Regions from separate parts of the Homo sapiens genome. Here region 2 is linked to region 1. The links are contacts of gene promoters, found by promoter capture Hi-C in human tissues and cell types (Jung and others, 2019). All regions are on one chromosome and are shown on one strand. The core of a region is centred on a gene start or on the middle of the fragment in contact, and the rest is flanking DNA. Distances in the headings are between cores, read along the strand shown.

Region 1 (5,943 bases), core at 3,220-5,719:
GGCTCATTATCTGTCTCAATGTGATGCCTCCCTGGGCAAACTATCCAGGCCACTACTGAATACCAGGATAAATTTTGTCCAAAATCTGACCCCTCCTCATCAGAACTAAGACCTCCTGTTAACCTGGGGACTGGGTATATTTAAAAACTTTGCCTCCAGACAGAAAACCCCTTCCAGCCCTCTGGACTGGACCCTTTCAAGTCCTCATAGCCTCTCCCACAGCTGTTAACTGCAGGGATTCTCCCCTTGGGTCCACCTTTGCCACATAAAGTCTGTACTGCCGCCAGAACTCCAGCCTGCTTACACTTTGAGCCCTTGGAAGATCTATGATTTTTGTTTTGCAAACAACCAGGTGACACTAACCTCTCTTCAAAAGCAAAGGATACCACGTAAGCCTTTTGCTGTGTTTATCATTCACTTTCCTTTCCCTCCCTTGTCATTCATTTCCTTATGTACTCTAGAAGCGTTTTTAGGTCCTCCAATTTTCTGAGATTATCCTCAATTCACTTACTTTTTTTTTTTTTTTTTTTTTGAGACAGAGTTTTGCTCTTGTCACCCAGGCTATAGTGCAATGGTGCGATCTCGGCTCACTGCAACCGCCATCTCCCGGGTTCAAGTGATTCTCCCGCCTCAACCTCCTGAGTAGCTGGGATTACAGGCATGCACCACCATGCCCGGCTATTTTTTTTTTTTTTTTTTTTTTTTTGTATTTTTAGTAGAGACAGGGTTTCACCATGTTGGCCAGGCTGTTCTCACACTTCTGACCTCAGGTGATCCGCCCGTCTCAGCCTCCCAAAGTGCTGGAATTACAGGCATGAGCCACCACACCCAGCCAATTTACTGTCTCTTTATCCAATCCCCATTTCTCAAGACCCACATACAATTATTCAGCTTGCACTAGATTTTTATTTGCAGGGTGGTTTTTCTAATTATACTTGGAGCAACTTTTGTAACAGTCCTTGAATTAGAACAATGAGACTCCTTTTTTCTTTCTTTCATGTTTTTCTCTTTATCTCTCATATAAAAACTTCCCAATCCTCTTGGTTTGACAATATCATCTTCAGCATCTCACATGCTATTGTGAGAGGAGAAAATACTCTGTGTGGCTGGCTTTGCCGTCCACAACCTGCTACTCCAAGCCATGTAGATTCTTCTTCGTAAGCACACCCTGTCTCCAATCAAACTGTACTGTTGGGATTTCATTATTCTTCTCACCACTCCTTCCCACCCCGACCATTTCCTTCTGTGCTGGTAAATTGGAAACCACCTCCCTCTTCGTGCTATCATATTACTTCCCCCACCATCCACACTTACAATATCACTGAAACTTCCTTAACTTGTAATGTTATTTTGGGAGGTACACCTTGTTATAATGACACTCATGCAGCTAACTTTGACTCATTTGAGGCCTTCGCCTCCTACAATCAAAACTCTGACTCTGGCCAGGTGCGCTGGCTCACACCTGTAATCCTAACACTTTGGGAGGTAGAGGTGGGTGGATCACCTGAGGTCAGGAGTTCGAGACCAGTCTGACCAACATGGTGAAACCCTGTCTCTACTAAAAATACAAAAATTAGCAGGGCGTGGTGGCAGGTGCCTGTAATCCCAGCTACTCAGGAGGCTGAGGCAGGAGAATCGCTTGAACCCAGGAGCAGAGGTTGCAGTGAGCCAAGGTCACACCACTTCACTCCAGCCTGGGCAACTGAGTGAGACTCCATCTCAAAAAAAAAAAAAAAAAAAATCTGACTCTATCTCATCACTGCCAATTTATAAGCCGTTAAACTGGACCAGTATAGTGGGGCTCCCAGTATACAGCACCCCTGCACTCCTAATACCTTCATGTATGTTACTATAATGATGCAACCAGTGCAGGAAATAACCACCGTGCCACCTGGTTTACATCCTATGCCATGCACTGGCACCCGCCTGCTTTTAAACCTCCTCCATCAGTACATAAACATAGTCTTTCCCCCATATGAGTCCTCTTAAAACTGTCAAAAGGCCCATTTCCTTTTTTCCCAACATTTTAATTAAAATAATCATCCTGCCCCTCCTGGGCTCTTATGGCTTAGCAGCCCCACTAAAAACTATTTAAACCCTTTTCAAGCTTTGGCCCTATCCCACCTTGATCATTCTCTTCACTATGGTGATTGTAGCCTGGGAACAATAGCTCCCACCCAAATCACTGTCTTAAACATCACTTCTAATTCAGAATTCCCTTCTAGAAGGAAAAGGGCCCTGGGACTTACTGTGGCCGGAGTTGTGGGAACTATCACAACTCTTACCCCTTGGGGAGGTTTTACTTACCAGGAAATCACAAGTAAGAGAACCTACCGCCTCCCTTGAAATAGCAAAAGCTGGCACCCATCTATCAGCTCTACAAGTCATTAGACTCACAAGCAGGATTTTGGTGTCTGGTAACAGGTGAGTTCTGGATTACCTCCTAGCTGAACAAGGAGGGGTCTGTGCTGTCATCAACAGGACCCGTTGCACCTACATTTATGTGTCTGGAGAAGTGGAAACCGATGCCCAAGAAATCATCAAACAAGCCAAATGGCTACACACACTTTCCCAAAGCAACCAAGACTGGGCCAAAACTTTTACTGATTGGTTTTCAAAAAATCACTTGGCTTCCCCCATTCCTTAGACCTTTATCTTCTGTCATTTTTCTTTTAATATTTGGTCCCTGCCTTTTTAATGCTCTGATTGCTTTTCTATGTTCTACATGAGAACAATTCCACCTGCAGAAGGCTATGCATTCCCAACACTGGCCTGCAACTGCAGCTCGATTTACATGGGGCTTCTTGATGGAAATACCGGCCTGCAACTGCAGCTCCCATTTACGTGGGGCTTCTTGATGGAATCCCATCACGTGCCTCCGTGCACAAGTTTTCATGACCCTTTATTCCCTTCATGACCGAGAGCAAGAAAGGGAAAAACGTGACCTACCCCCCTGAACTCCCTTTCAGCAGCAAGTAGTCAGGCGCACTGGACACCCCTCTTCACTGTGCCGTTTCCCCTTTCTTGAGACCCCAACAGGAAGCAGGTGGACATGAGCATGGCAGAAAAGGAAGGGTCAAAGATTTCACCAAGATATTTGTCAGAGGGAAAATGAGGACAGCAAAGATCACCTGGAGACCATCAAGCAGGCCCCAGGTGGGGTGGGTGGAGGGGAGCCTCTTTATTTGAGAAATGTAGAATGAATTAGACTTCCCTATTATCTAAAGTTGGCACCTGGTTCCAGGCCTCTTTTCAACCTAAAACTTATACATAACTAGAATTTCTATACATCTCTGGAATGCAGCATGCTGAAACTCACTGTGCAACCCCTGCCTTGTGTGTGTCTGTATACCATGCAGGTTTGCTTGCTAAATTGAGCCTGTAAACCAAAAAGTACCTCAAACAGGTCTCAATTAATTTAGAAAGTTTTTGTTGCCAAGGCTAAGGATGCACCCGTGGTACAGCCTCAGGAGGGAGGACATCCTTGCCAAGCTCAAGGGTGCACCCCTGACCACAAGGGCCCAAGGTGGTCGGGGCACAGCTTGCTTTTATACATTTTAGGGAGATATGAGGCATCAATCAATACATGGGAGATTTACATTGGTTCCATCTGGAAGGGCGGGACAACTTGAATTGGGGGGCTTCCAGGTCATAGGTAGATTTAAACATATTTTGATTGGCAACTGACTGAAGAATTATTATCAGCAGAAAGGAGTGTCTGGGTTATGAAATAGGGGTTGCAGGGAGCAGATGATGCCTTCAGGTAGCGGGATTTAGAGAGAAAATAGATGGTAAATGCTTCCTATCAGACTTAAGGTCTATGTCGATGTTAATGCTGGGGGTTATGATGTGGCATGGCCTGAACGTCTTCCGGGTTAAAGTTTAGAGCACCCTGGCGGACAGGGAACCCCATTCAGATGGTTGCTGGGGGGCCTTCGAATTTTATTTTTGGTTTACAAGCCTTCCCATCAGCTGCGCCAGGGTCAGCAAACCACAGTCCATGGGCCCAATCTGGCCTGCCACCTGCTTTTTGTAAATAAAGTTTTATAGGAACACGCCCACACCTCTGGCAGCTGCTTTGCAAGCACGCAGCAGGGTTGAGTTGTTGCAACATAGACCACAGGGCCTGCCAAGCCTCAATTATCTGTGCTCCGACCCTTTAAGAAACACTTCTCTCACCCCTGAGCTAAGCAGAATAAGAGGGGCTGGACGTGCAGGACTCAGAGTGGGAGCGAGGAGGGCTGGGGTGAGGACAGCTTTGTCACACTCTGTTTTTCTGTCACTCAGCCCTGGGGGCTCCCTCTGCCTGAGGGCTTCGTCCCCTGCTGCCTGGCCGTGACCCGCAGCACAAGCACAGATAAGCCTCAGGGAACAAAAGGCAGGGCTGCCACGGAAGCCCATCCACCAATCCTCACCTCTCACCTCTGTGTCCGCCCTGCTGGGAAATATTCCAGGCTTTGGCCAAGGCCAGTGCAGCCCCAGGTTCCCGAGCGGCAGGTTGGGTGCGGACCATGGCCTCTCACAAGCTGCTGGTGACCCCCCCCAAGGCCCTGCTCAAGCCCCTCTCCATCCCCAACCAGCTCCTGCTGGGGCCTGGTCCTTCCAACCTGCCTCCTCGCATCATGGCAGCCGGGGGGCTGCAGATGATCGGGTCCATGAGCAAGGATATGTACCAGGTAGGAGTGGGGGTCACTCGGGGGGCCTGGGTCTCACCCATGTTCCCACCCACAGATCGTGGACGAGGGAAGGGGGTCACTGCCTCCTCACTTGGGGAGGCGGGGAGCCTGGGTCTCACCCTATACCACCCGCATGCAGATCATGGACGAGATCAAGGAAGGCATCCAGTACGTGTTCCAGACCAGGAACCCACTCACACTGGTCATCTCTGGCTCGGGACACTGTGCCCTGGAGGCCGCCCTGGTCAATGTGCTGGAGCCTGGGGACTCCTTCCTGGTTGGGGCCAATGGCATTTGGGGGCAGCGAGCCGTGGACATCGGGGAGCGCATAGGTAAGGGAGAGGCCCAGGTGGGGATGGCCCTGGATCCATCCTTCAAGGCCTCCCTGGCCTCCCTCTGTTTGAAGCTGGCAGCCCCCGTTCCTGGGTGAGCGCTTACCCACCTTGTGGCCCTGTGCGCACGAACCTCCTGCCAGCCCACTGCCTCCTCCAGGCGGTGTCGGGCACTCATGAGGCCTGACTCTGATAGGGCTGGGAGCAGCACAGGTGCCCCGATCCCCCCAGTCTCCTTGAGCTGTTTCTGGAGCATGTGCAGGACGGAACTACAGGGAAGCCTCTGGTCCCAGCACACACTCCTGAGAGCCCCGGCCGCTGTCCAGGGCCCCAGGCACCAGCTCTGCTTTGTGACAGGGTGGGGTTTCAGAAGCTGAAGCCTCCCCTCAAATCTCAGCAGCCTTCCTTCTGGAATCTTGATGTGATACACAAAATATGGAGGTATGGGCAGAGTATTCGCCTCCGGAGTACACTTTTCTGGGAGAGACACAGGAGCAGGAGTGTGCCCTGGGTTTAATGATTGATTGTGGCATTGAGGGACATCAGCTTGGTGAGCTCCACAATGGCCATGCTGGTTAATACGCGACCGCAACAGCCAAGAGGGTCCCAACCCCAAGTCCACAAACTTTTCAAGGGGACCCAGGGTCGGCAGAGGCCAGGACCCCAAGTGGACATCAGGGCACGCAGGCTCAGATGCCTGTGGTATATGGCTTCCCTTTTCCCCATTCTGTCCCCTTGGCCGCAGGTTCTTCCCCTCCCACAACCTGGCCCTGAACAGCACACAGGATAGGGCAGAGACAGGGAGGGGGTGAGGGCCTGATTCCTGGAGTCCCCAGCTCCAACAGAGGTCAAGGCTGCTGCCTCACTCACCCCTCATCCTTCAGTCTGTCATCCATCACACCTGTGGTGTGCCAGCCCTGGACCAGGTACACTCT
Region 2 (5,391 bases), core at 947-3,446, 76 kb after region 1:
CAGCCTCCCGAGTAGCTGGGACTACAGGCACACATGACCACGCCCAGCTAATTTTTGTGTTTTTTGTAGAAATGGGGTTTTGCCATGTTGCCCAGGCTGGTCTCAAACTCCTGGGTTCAAGTGATCCACCTGCCTCAGCCTCCCAAAGTGCTGGGATTTTGCGCTCAGCCAGCAGTACCATTTTTTAAAATCGCAATATACAATCTCAGGCTTACCTCAAGGCATTTCCTTGCTCTCTGATATCCGCTCTTCTTTTCGTTCCCCGGCTGCTTTGGTATATCTGAACTCTAAGTTATATCTCTTCAATCTCATAAGCCTGCTGAAATCTTAGGCCATGTTCCCAGTCTTTTAGCTAAAGCTTTTTTTTTTTTTTTTTAATTTTTAAGCAGAGTCTTGCTCTGTCGCCCAGGATGGAGTGCAATGGGGTGATCTCGGCTCACTGCAACCTCCGCCTCCTGGGTTCAAGCAATTCTCCTGCCTCAGCCTCCTGAGTAGCTGGGATTACAGGCATATGCCCGGCTAATTTTTGTATTTTTAGTAGAGATGGGGTTTCGCCATGTTGGCCAGGTTGGTCTCGAACTCCCGAGCTCAGGTGATCTGCCCACCTCGGCCTCCCTAAGTGCTGGGATTACAGGCATTAGCCACCAAGCCCGGCCTAAAGCTTTATTCTTGGATACTGAGGCTCTACACCCCCTGTCACTTAGGACTTGGCAGATACCTCAAAGGGGAAATCTGTTGTATTCATAGAATTTCAGACTCACTTTAATATATTTCTCTCTGTAGCCTGAACACCTGGGACCTGACTGCGTTAGTATCTCTCTAATGCTTTTAAACAGATTATTGGATTGTACGTTGTATTGCTTTTCTAGTTGCTTTAGATGGGAGGGTTGGTTTTCAACAACCCACCTCACCATTATCAGAAGCAGAAAGTCCTGGTTTTTACTTTTGAAGAATGTTTTCGCTGGGTATAGAATACTAAAATAGCCATTATTTTCTTTCAGAAATTTAATGAAGTCATTCCATCATCTTCTGGCCTTCATTGTTGCATAGAAAGCAAATGTCAGTCTTGTTCATTTCACGCCTATGTGTCTTTTTCCCTTTGTTTTTTAAAAAACATTTTTCTTTATCTTTGGTATTCAGAAACTTTACTAAGTTGTATATATGTGACATTTTCTTTTAATTTATCCTTTTGGGGGTTACAGCTCATTTTAAGTCTGTGGCTAGATGTATTTTATTAGATTTGGAACATTCTTGGCCTGTATCTGTTCAAATGTGCCCTCTCATCTCCTTTTGAGGCTGTAATTACACATATGATGGGCATTTTTAGCTTGTCCTATATGTCTATAACATTCTTTTGTGTATTTTCTATCCATCCTTCTATCTCTTTATGATTCAGTCTGAACACATTCTTTGTCTCTCTTCCAGGTTATTAGTCCTTTCTTTTATTCTGTCTAATCTGCCATTGTCTATTAATTTTTTTTTTACTTTTGGTTATTATATTTTAAATTGTCTTTTTTATATTTAGTATCCAGTTCTATTGTTAAACTTTACGTCTTGCTATCCATCTTCTTGAACACGTGAATCAGCTATTTTAAAGTTTGTGTCTGATAACTCCAATATCTAGATAACCAGGGTAGGAGGATCTATATCTATTTTCTGTTCTTATTAGTGGTTTTTTTGTCATGTGGTCCTGTCTCCTGATAGGCCAGATCTTGATTAGTCAATCTTATATATAATAAATTATAGAAATAATTTGAGGATCTTGATGATGCGATTCTTCTTCCAGAAAGCATTTATTTTTGTTCTTGTTGTTGTTTGTTTGTTTGTTTTTGAGAGAGGGTCTCACTCTGTCACCCAGGCTGGAGTGCAGTGGCATGATCTTGGCTCACCATAACCTCTGCCTCCTGGGTTCAAGCGATTCTCCTGCCTCGGCCTCCTGAATAGCTGGGATTACAGGTGTGTGCCATCGTGCCTGGCTAATTTTTGTATTTTTAGTAGAGACGGGGTTTCACCATGTTGCCAGGCTGGTCTTGAACTCCTGACCTCAAGTGATCTGCCTGCCTTGGCTTCCCAAAGTGCTGGGATTATAGGCGTGAGCCGCCTCAGCTGGCCAGAATTTACTTTTGACCCTGGCAGGCAGTGAACGTAGAAGGTCACTGTAATCCAATCCGTGACTGGGATGATTCGCACGTGAGCTTCGGTGTCTATGAAGGATGGTCTATTTCTGATTCACCGCTAGTACTAGGGTCAAGCCCTGCTGTGAATACAACTTGATGTCTTGTGATATTTATCAGAGCCTCTCTGTTTTGGTGGCTCTGAACCCTAACTTTTGTCCCCCTCAGGCCATGGTACTGCCAGAAGTTCTTCTTGGCATCTCAATTTTTCAGCCCAAACTCTTAAATGAGCAAATGCCTTGAGGAAGAGGAGACATTAAATGCTGGGCTCATTCCTCTGTACCTCCCTTCTCTCCAAGATCTTCACTCCTTCGGTCCCAGCTGTCTGTTCAGCTGTCTGAGGTGTCTTGCATATTCTTATGATATATTCTTTCTAGATTTTTATGATGTTCTTGGTGGAAGTGTTGGTCTGCAGCAATCTAGTTTTCTGTTACCTTCTATTGCCATTTCTATGCAGCATTTCCTGACCCCTGGACACTGGAGGACCAACAAATGGTACCATTTAGATTGACAGTTGGCTCCTACCTAGGAGTGCCCAGTTCAATACCATCTCCATCCACTCAGGGTACCTGAGTGGATGCCCCCTCTATTGTAAAAACATACATGTGTTTCTGAGATCCACCCACTTCTTCCACTTTCACCTCCATGCCATTCTGCATAAAATCACTTCTTCTGAAGTCCTTTCTTCCCCTCAAGAGGCCCATGCTCACCCACCCACTTACTCTCTTTCTCTGCCGACTGTCCCCTCCCCACCTCCCCTAGGTCACATGCCAGAAACAGGCCCTGGAGGAGCAGCTGGCTCAGAGCCTGCAGGACCAGGAGGCCCAGATGGGCACTCTGCAGCAAGCCCTGCAAGGAAAGGATGCTCTGTCTGAGGAGCGGGCCCAGCTGCTGGCCAAGCAGGAGGCCTTGGAGAGGCAGGGCCGGCTCGCAGCTGAAGAGGCAGCTGATCTCAGGTATGCAAGGGCCTGCCAGTCAGGGCATGTCCCACGTGTCCTTGCCCACAGAGAGTCTGCAGTGTGGCAGGGTATGGGGACAATCGCACCATGACATAGGACTGGGAGGGAGCGTGTGCCCATGAAATGGGCTGTGAGTGGAGGCGAGCACAGAGCCTTTGGGTTGGGGGAGGGCATCTGGAAGAGGTCAACCCAGTGAAAGCGCTGGGGTCACCCTCCTGAAAGAGGTGGTGGCAAGTGCAGAAACACAGCTCAGACCAGGGGAAGGCAGATGTGGAATGTCTTGCTCATGGAGCTGAGGAGTTCAGGGTGAATCCAACTTCAGGTATGGCTGGATTCAGGCACTCCCACAGTGCCCTCAGAATCCTGCTTCTCTCTCCCTCAGCACAGCTTGACTCTGAGATCTTTTTCCCAGGCAGGCTTACTCTGAGAGGTGGCAAGATGGCCAGCAGCCACCCCAGGGTCCCCCTTCCAGCAGATGCAGAGCACCCTTCTCCCTGCAAGGCCTGAGAGCGGCTGCCATGGGCCGTCTTGAGCTGTGTGACATCCCTGTACCAATCCTAGGAGCTGGGAGTCACAGGGCCTGATCCCAGGCTTGGGCTGCACACCCATCCCTGGAGCCAGAAGCAGGGTCAGCCCAGGGACACATGAGGTGGAGAGTGTGGGCGGGTGAGCCCAAAGGCCCTCAGGGCAACTCCCAGAAGTTGGGACGGGCACTCGCAGGCAAGAACAGGATGTGTGTAGGCTGTTGCCTGGTGATCTGAATGGGTCCTGCAGCCTCTGCAGAAACCCAACAGCTGATGGCTTCTGTGCCTTATAGGCCCTGCTTAGGGCCCTGCTCAGGCACTGCTAAGCATTTTTGTTGAAAAGATTTCCTCCTGGAATTCTAGAATCTGGGAGGCATGAGAAACCTTGGAGTCTGGGATCCTCGAGCTTCACAGACAAACCTCTTCTCCAAATGAAAGCTTGCACAGCAAGGAAAACCTGAGGGAGGCTGCTGCGGGTTGGGCTCCTGCCCATGCTCCCTCCTGGGCCCTGGGGGCTCCAAGGACCGGGGTGGAGGTCCCTTTCCTGCTGTCAGGGTCTACTGCCCAGAACACAGGCCCCAGCCAGAGCCCTCAGCAGCCTGGGTGCTGCCCTGACAGCTGCCCCTACCTCAGCCCTGCCACTGACCCGAGGTCCCTGCACATGGCAGCCCTGCAGGCCCCAGCATCACAGGCCACTGAACAGGGCATCCTGATGGCCCATTGAGCCTCTGGTGACAGAGGGGCTTGACCTGAAGCCACGTCTGCCCGGACACACTCTGTGTGTTTATCTGACTGGCCCAGTGGGGCCAGAGAGCGTGGAAGCTGCCATTGATGAGCTCGCAGGTAACATTCAGGACCATTAAGTGTGGGAAACCGTGCTGCAGCTCCTTGCTTCTGATGAGGCCTCCCCACGGGTCTGCTTTATGAAGGGCTCCACTCTCGGATCCTCAGGCCCTGACAAGGCTTCAGCAGTGGGGACCTGCTCCCTCCCTTCATGGAGTCCTGGCCCACTTGTCAGCCAGCAAGATGGACCAAGGTCCCCGCCAGCCCACACCCCAAGCAGCCCTGCCTTGCTCAGAGCACCCCGTGGTGGGCCAGGCCTCCAGTCCAGGGTCTCAATGGCAGAGCCCCTGGAGTTTCTCCTGGGCCCCCAAGGAGAGAGAGGCTGGGCACACGCTCAGGTCCCCAAGCTTCAGGCAAAGACATCTGATGTCTGAGCAGCAGAGGCCACATCCCTTACAGGAGACCAGGCGGGCCTCTAGGAGGAGGGGTTTCCAGGCTGACTTGAAGGAAAGGTTTCCTACACGCAGAAGGGGGAAGAGCTGCCAGGTGAAGAGAGCACTCAAGCCTGGGAGTGTTGGGATGGGGGCCATGAGGAACACTTACGGGAGGAGGGACCGGAGAGGGAGCAGAGTAGCATGCAGCAGAGTGAGGTCTCTGGGGGTTCTGACCTGAGCCCAGAGGACTTCCCTCTGCGAGCCCTGGCGAGCCCCAGAAGGCTTGGATGTGCTCTACCCCGATGAAGGGGGTGGCGGTGGCCAGAAAGATGGAAGAGAAATGGAGGCAGGGCCTGATCAGGAGCTGCCAGGGTCTCTGTGGCCCATGGCCCACCCTGACCTCATCTGTTTGGGGTTGTGCACCTACCATTTGTGTGTTCATATGGGTGTCTGTGTTTGAGTCTTTGTGATGTGTTTGTACGTGTTGTTTAATGCCTTGCTTTGTTCACGGATAAAC

Evidence for each region. Contacts are between HindIII fragments. The study calls those that stand out against the background at their distance.
Region 2: a fragment that was not itself captured here is called in contact with the fragment with the promoter of AGXT in region 1 in 4 of the 25 tissues and cell types used here (IMR-90 fibroblasts, adrenal gland, aorta and 1 more).

The regions. Positions count from the first base shown.
Region 1 is chr2:240,864,355-240,870,297 of GRCh38, forward strand. It overlaps AGXT (alanine--glyoxylate aminotransferase), which reads left to right and starts at 4,470. Exons shown (of 11, transcript NM_000030.3): 1 at 4,470-4,676; 2 at 4,816-5,008. The coding sequence starts at 4,512. RefSeq lists an enhancer at 3,989-4,489. The HindIII fragment of the contact is 24,692 bases long and covers 1-5,943 here.
Region 2 is chr2:240,943,124-240,948,514 of GRCh38, forward strand. CROCC2 (ciliary rootlet coiled-coil, rootletin family member 2) reads left to right here. Exons shown (of 32, transcript NM_001351305.2): 15 at 2,937-3,130. Among named protein-coding and RNA genes, the nearest start is that of UICLM, 22 kb to the right of the region's middle. The HindIII fragment of the contact is 4,549 bases long and covers 1-4,471 here.